Linked DNA regions of Homo sapiens: region 2 is linked to region 1. Evidence: promoter capture Hi-C in 16 types of primary human blood cells and fetal thymus (Javierre and others, 2016). All regions are on one chromosome and are shown on one strand. The core of a region is centred on a gene start or on the middle of the fragment in contact, and the rest is flanking DNA. Distances in the headings are between cores, read along the strand shown. Region 1 holds the start of FICD (FIC domain protein adenylyltransferase). Region 2 has its middle 13 kb from the start of USP30.

What was found. The method cuts DNA at HindIII sites, captures the fragments that hold promoters and counts their contacts. A CHiCAGO score of 5 or more calls a contact.
Region 2: a fragment that was not itself captured here is called in contact with the fragment with the promoter of FICD in region 1 in 1 of 17 cell types (neutrophils); the score reaches 5.4 in neutrophils.

The regions. Positions count from the first base shown.
Region 1 is chr12:108,513,794-108,516,862 of GRCh38, reverse strand. FICD (FIC domain protein adenylyltransferase) reads right to left here and starts at 1,586. Exons shown (of 3, transcript NM_007076.3): 1 at 1,502-1,586. RefSeq lists enhancers at 1-152, 2,055-2,114. The HindIII fragment of the contact is 9,938 bases long and covers 1-3,069 here.
Region 2 is chr12:109,037,792-109,040,722 of GRCh38, reverse strand. It overlaps a transcript of USP30 not described here. Among named protein-coding and RNA genes, the nearest start is that of USP30, 13 kb to the left of the region's middle. The HindIII fragment of the contact is 1,784 bases long and covers 454-2,237 here.

The DNA of each region.
Region 1 (3,069 bases), core at 337-2,836:
GACTTCAGCTGGGAAGATGGGTTTGGAGACTTCTGCTCTTTTAGCTCACTAGAGAGATGGGGTGGGGGCAAGTCAAGGACTGGATCTCACTAGAGGAGGGGCCAGCCTAGAAGGACTGGTGCCACCTCCTGGGCAGTATGAATGTGAAAACACTGCTGTGGTCCAACAATTAATGAGCACTTGCCATAATCCAGGCCGTGTGCTAAGCACCAAATGCCTCACATGGGTCACCTCCTGCAATCTTCAACGACTTGAGCTGATGTTTTCACCCTTCTCCAGGTGAGGGAACTGAGGTTCAGAGAGGTGAAGTCCCTTGCCGAAAGTCTCGCCGGGAGCAAGTGACAGCCTTAGGACTTGAACTCAGGAACCCCACGGCTCTAAAGTGTCCCCCCTTCCCATATATCCCTGTGGCTTCTGACCACAAACACTGGATTTGTGGACATATGTCAAACATTTGGGACATAAATGACTGACAGACACCCAGGCAGATCAGCCACAGCAGTTCTGACGCCCAATCTTTGATAAGCACAATTGTTGGGTGGCCTCATTTATTGCCCTCACCCTGATATTCAGCCACAGCTCCCACAGTGCCCTTCCCCTCTCTGGCCTTCCATTTCTGGCCTGTCCAGAAGGGACCCCATCAAGAAGATGAGCAGTTCGAGCATCTCGAAAGGAACTCAGGCTGTGGGCCACAGTGCTTGGCCTCAGTGACAACATGGCTTGTATGTGCTTGGGGCTGGCAGTGGGAGTGGAGGTGGGGCCAGGCATGCAAACACTATGCTAACAATAAGCACTTATTAAGCAACTATGGTGTCCTAGGTGCTGAGCAGTGTACTGGCCACGCATTGCCTCGTTTCACCCTCATGCCACCCTATGAAGGAAGAGCTACCGCTAGCTCCATTTTACAGACAAGGGAAACCAAGACACAGAGAGCATAAGTTAAATTCCAGAAGGCCCACAGGAGGTAAACAGAGGCATCCGGAAGGAAACCCCAGGGCCTCTGAACCCGGTCCCCAGGTCTCGATTTCTACCTTATTACTAAGCAGGGCCTGTGCACCTGCTCTGGGCTGGTCCTGACCCGGGAATGACTGATGGATCACGGGGTTCTGAGTCTCATGGGGATCCTGGCCCATTGCCACAGAACATGTGAAATGGCTTGGGGTGCGCTTTAATAGGGGTGCGCCTGGAGTGCTGCGCGGGTCCAGGGGTCTGGGCGGGCTTCCCGAGGGGACAGGCTCCTGGGCGGGGCGGTACAGGAAAGGGGGCAGTTCGCCGGTGCCAGGGGTGTGTGCAGGGAAGGAGTGCGTTCTGGGAGGCGCGAATCTCTCCCCCACACTTCCCTAGAAAGGGAGAACTGAGGCCCGGAGAGGGGAGGGGACCGGTCTGAGTCCCCTCCAAGACTGCAGAGCCTCCCTTCCCGAACCCCGCCCAGGGCTCGCGGCCCCGTCGCACCCTTCCCGGCTTCATCCTCTCGAGCCCCTAGGGCTTTTCCCCTTCTCACCGCGCGCAGCTGTCAGAACCCCAACCGCCTTCCCCGCGCTCCCAGCTCCGGGCCGCCGGCTCCCGGGTCCTCCTTCTCCGCCGGCCTCTGGCCCCGCCCCCGGCGACTTGCCATTGAACCGCCCGCAGCCCTCGTCGCGGCGGATTGGCTTTCCCCACTTGTCCTTCCCTCGCATTTCCGGGTTCCCGCGTCCGCGTCGGCTTCCCCGGGAAAGACGCGCCGTGGGCCACTCCCATTGGTTGTTGCTTGCGTTTGTCTCGTTCACGTAGCAGCCAATAAGCAGCGGGAGGGGCGGGGCCTAGGCCACAGGCAGGAGGAGCAGGTGCTGGAAACCCGATGGGCGTGCGGATTTGGGGCACACTAGGTGGCGGGCCCGGAAACTGGAAGTTCCACGGCGGTCTTTTCCTCGGGTCTCTTCGTCCCGGAGCCGCTGTCGTGTGCCTCATTTTTCCCGGTTGTGAAATGAAGATGCTGATGCTTTTCACCCCTTCACCCGGTTAGCCTGCTTGACTGCGCAGCCCCTGTTCTTAGCCTCCACCCCATGCTGCTGAGTTTGCCGCCTTCTTCTTCTTTACTCTTTTCCTCTCTGTGTCTTTTCCTCCCTGACTTAAACAACTTTTTTTTTTCTTATAAAATACAGGGTCTCGTTGTGTCGCCCAGGCTGGAGTGCGGTGGAGCAATTGCAGCTCACTGCAGCCTCCACCTCCTGGGCTCAAGCAATCCTCCCATCTCAGCCTCCCGAGTAGCTGGGACTACAGGTGCATGCCACCATGCCCGGCGAATTTTCTTTTCTTTTCTTTTCTTTCTTTCTTTCTTTTTTTTTCTCTCTCTCTGTCTTGCTTTCTTTCTTTTTTTTTGAGACGGAATCGCACTCTGTTGCCCAGGCTGGAGGGAAGTGGCACGATCTTGGCCCACTGCAACCTCCGCCTCCCAGGTTGAAGCGATTCTCCTGCCTCAGCCTCCCGAGTAGCTGGGATTACAGGCGCGCATCACCACGCCCGCCTAATTTGTGTATTTTTAGTAGAGATGGGGTTTCACCACGTTGGCCAGGCTGGTCTCGAACTCCTGACCTCAGAAGATTCGCCTGCCTCGGCCTCCCAAAGTGCTGGGATTACAGGCGTGAGCCATCGCGCCCGACCTATTTCTGATTTTTTATTTTCTTTAGAGACCGGGTCTCACTATGTCGCCCGGGCTGGTCTCGAACTCTTGACCTTAAGCTCTCCCTCCATCTCGGCTTCCCAAAGCGCTAAGATTACAGGCGCAAGCCACCCCCTCGGTTCTCCCTGACTTTTTAATTTGTATCCTCTCCAGAAGGACCTGGCTAGTTCTTTTGGCTTCCCAGAGAGAAATTTTTTCCTTGAAGCAGAGAATGGAAACCTCCATCTTAATCCACAAATACTGAAATTAAACATCTAGGGAGGTGCCCCAGAAACGCTAAGCATTTAGAAGTTAGCAGTTCAGATTCTGGGGAGTCAAAGAGACCTGAGCTCAAATTCAGACTTTGCCATTTACTCTCCGTGTCACCTTGGGCACGTTACTCCTAGCCTCACTTTCCCCACTTGTAAAAT
Region 2 (2,931 bases), core at 96-2,595, 520 kb before region 1:
AGGTCCATGTGGCAAGGAACTGAGGCCTTCTGCCAACAGCCATTACCAACTTGCCAATCACGTGAGTGCACCATCTTGAAAGTGGATCCTCCAGCCCCAGTCAAGTCTTCAGATGAGACCACAGCCATAGCCAACATCTGGCTACAACCTCATAAAAGGCCCTGAGCAATAGCCAGCCAACTCAGCTGCTCTTGGTGGATTCCTGACTCACAGAAACTGTGTGGGATAACAATTGTTAATTTTTTTAAAGATGCTAAGTTTTGGGGGTAATTTCTTATGCAGCAGTAGAGAACTACTATAGCAGGAGCAATGTTCCTCAAAATGTGGACTTTATACCAACTACCTCAAAATCTCTTGAGCTGCTTGTTAAAAGTGTGGGTTCCAGGCCCCAACACAGTCAAGTGGATCAGAACATAGCAGTGTGATGCCTAAGAATCTGCATTTTGACAAGCTTCCCTAATAGTTTCTCTAATCACTTCCTTAATAGTTAAACTCTAAAGTTTCCCCAAACTTCAGGTATTTTGGTAGCACCCTAAATTTTTTTTTTGTTTGCCATATGTAGACTTTACCTTCACTATTTTATTCATCAACCTGTGGCACATAAATATTTTAAATGTTCTTTATAAAAACTGTTTTCACATGTAGAAAAAAAACAATATTTTTCTAATATATGTGAAAATAAGTATCTACATATGATAATTAAAATGTGATAAATATTTATATCATATATCACCCCAAGTCATCTTGATTACATTCAGAGGTAAACATTCCATCCTTAGTGAAACACTGAGATAGAGAAAGAAAGAAAATGGCTGGCCAGGTGTGGTGGTTCACGCCTGTAATCCCAGCACTTTGGGAGGCCAAGGCAGGCAGATCATGAGGTCAAGAGATCGAGATCATCCTGGCCAACATGGTGAAACCACATCTCTACCAAAAATGCAAAAATTCACTGGGTGTGGTGGCGGGCACCTGTAGTCCCAGCTATTTGGGAGGCTGAGGCAGAAGAATTGCTTGAACCTGGGAGGTGGAGGTTGCAGTGAGCTGAGATCGTGCCACTGAACTACAGCCTGGTGACAGGGTGAGATTCCATCTCAAAAAAAAAAATGGATTCTTATCACTTAGTAATAAGAATAGTTACAGCACCCCACATTTTTTCTCGGGAACTAGATCAGTTCTAAATGCTGGCTTCTGTATCATCTCCTTATATTCTCACTACATTCATGGGCAGCAGATAGGGTAAGATATAATTAGTGCCATTTTACAGATGAGAGCATTGTAGGAACTTTATCTAAGGTCAAATGACTAGAACACAAGCCCTATCTCCTGTCTTCCCACCCAAACCTTTTTGGAAGATATGACATTCCTCTATGGCCAAAATAAACCATAGAGAACTATAGGATAAGACACATAAAAATATAGAAGGTACACTATTGTAAAAGAATGTAACAAGACATGCAAATTAACTTGAAATGAATTATAGATCTACAATTGAAAGTTAAAACTGTAAAACTTTCTGAGGAAAACGGAGAAAAATCTTTGCAACCTTGGGGTAGACAAAGATTTCATAGATAGATCACAAAAAGCACAAACTAGAAAAGAAAAAACTGATACATTGGATCTAATCAAAATTTTAAAATTTTTCTTTTCAAAAAACACTGTTAAGAAAACAAAAAGATAAGCCACAAAATGTTTATAATACATATATCTAACAAAGACTTGTATCCGGAATATGTAAAGAACTCTTGCAATTCAATAAGAAGAAAAACAATTCCCTCTGAACTGGCAAAATATCTGGACAGATACTTCACAATACAGTATATGAGAATGATCAGTAGGCACATGAAAAGATGGTCAACATCACTAGTCATCAGGGATACAAAAATTAACACCATTATATAATACCACCACACACCCATTAGAATGGCTAAAATTAAAGAAATTAATATCACTTGTTGGTGAGGATTTGGAGCAACTGGATATCATACGTTGCTAGCAGGAATGTAAAATAATATACTTTGGAAAACTATTTGGCAGATTCATATAAAGAGAAACATAAACTTACCATAATGATCCAACCATTCCTCTTCTAGGTATTTATTTATCCAAGAGAAAGGGAAATATAAGCCCACACAGACTGTTTGTTGAAACATTGCAGGTAAGTATTTTAATAAATAGCATTCATTGCTGAAGAAATGAATAACAATTGCAGCAAAAAAAAGATAGACTAGCAAAAAGCTTAAAAGGGAAAAAAAGCTTAAAAGGAAAATGTGTGCTATTTACAATAGCAATGACATGGATTCAACCCAAATGCTCATCAATGATAGACTGGATACAGACAATGTGGTACATATACACCATGGAATACTATGCAACCATAAAAATGAATGAGATTATGTCCTTGACAGAGACATGGATGGAGCTGATCCAGGAACAGAAATCAAACACCACATATTTACATGCTTACAATTGGGAGCTGCATGGTGAGAACACATGGAAACTGGCAGGTGGGGAGGGGGGCGGGAACCAACATACACTGGGGCCTTTGGAGGGGTCGGGGGAGGGAGAGCATCAGAAATAACAGCTCATGAATGTTGGGCTAAATACCTAGGTGATAGGTTGATCTGTGCAGCAAACCACCATGGCACACTTACCTATGTAACAAACCTGCATATCCTGCACATGTACCTGGGAACTTAAAATAAAAGTGGAAGAAAAAAAAAGAAAATCTGAGGAATCAGATATTCAGGGGCTTTGAAAAATTCAGATGTAATTCTGAGTATCTAGAAGGACATACACATGTGCAGCACTCTCTACATGCTCAGGGTAAACCTGAGAAGGCCCTAAGTTCTCACATCTGGCTGACCTTGATGTTTGACACAAGCAGGAAGTGAAGCCTAAGGCAGAGTTTTCAGCTGACAGGCTGAGTGTTGA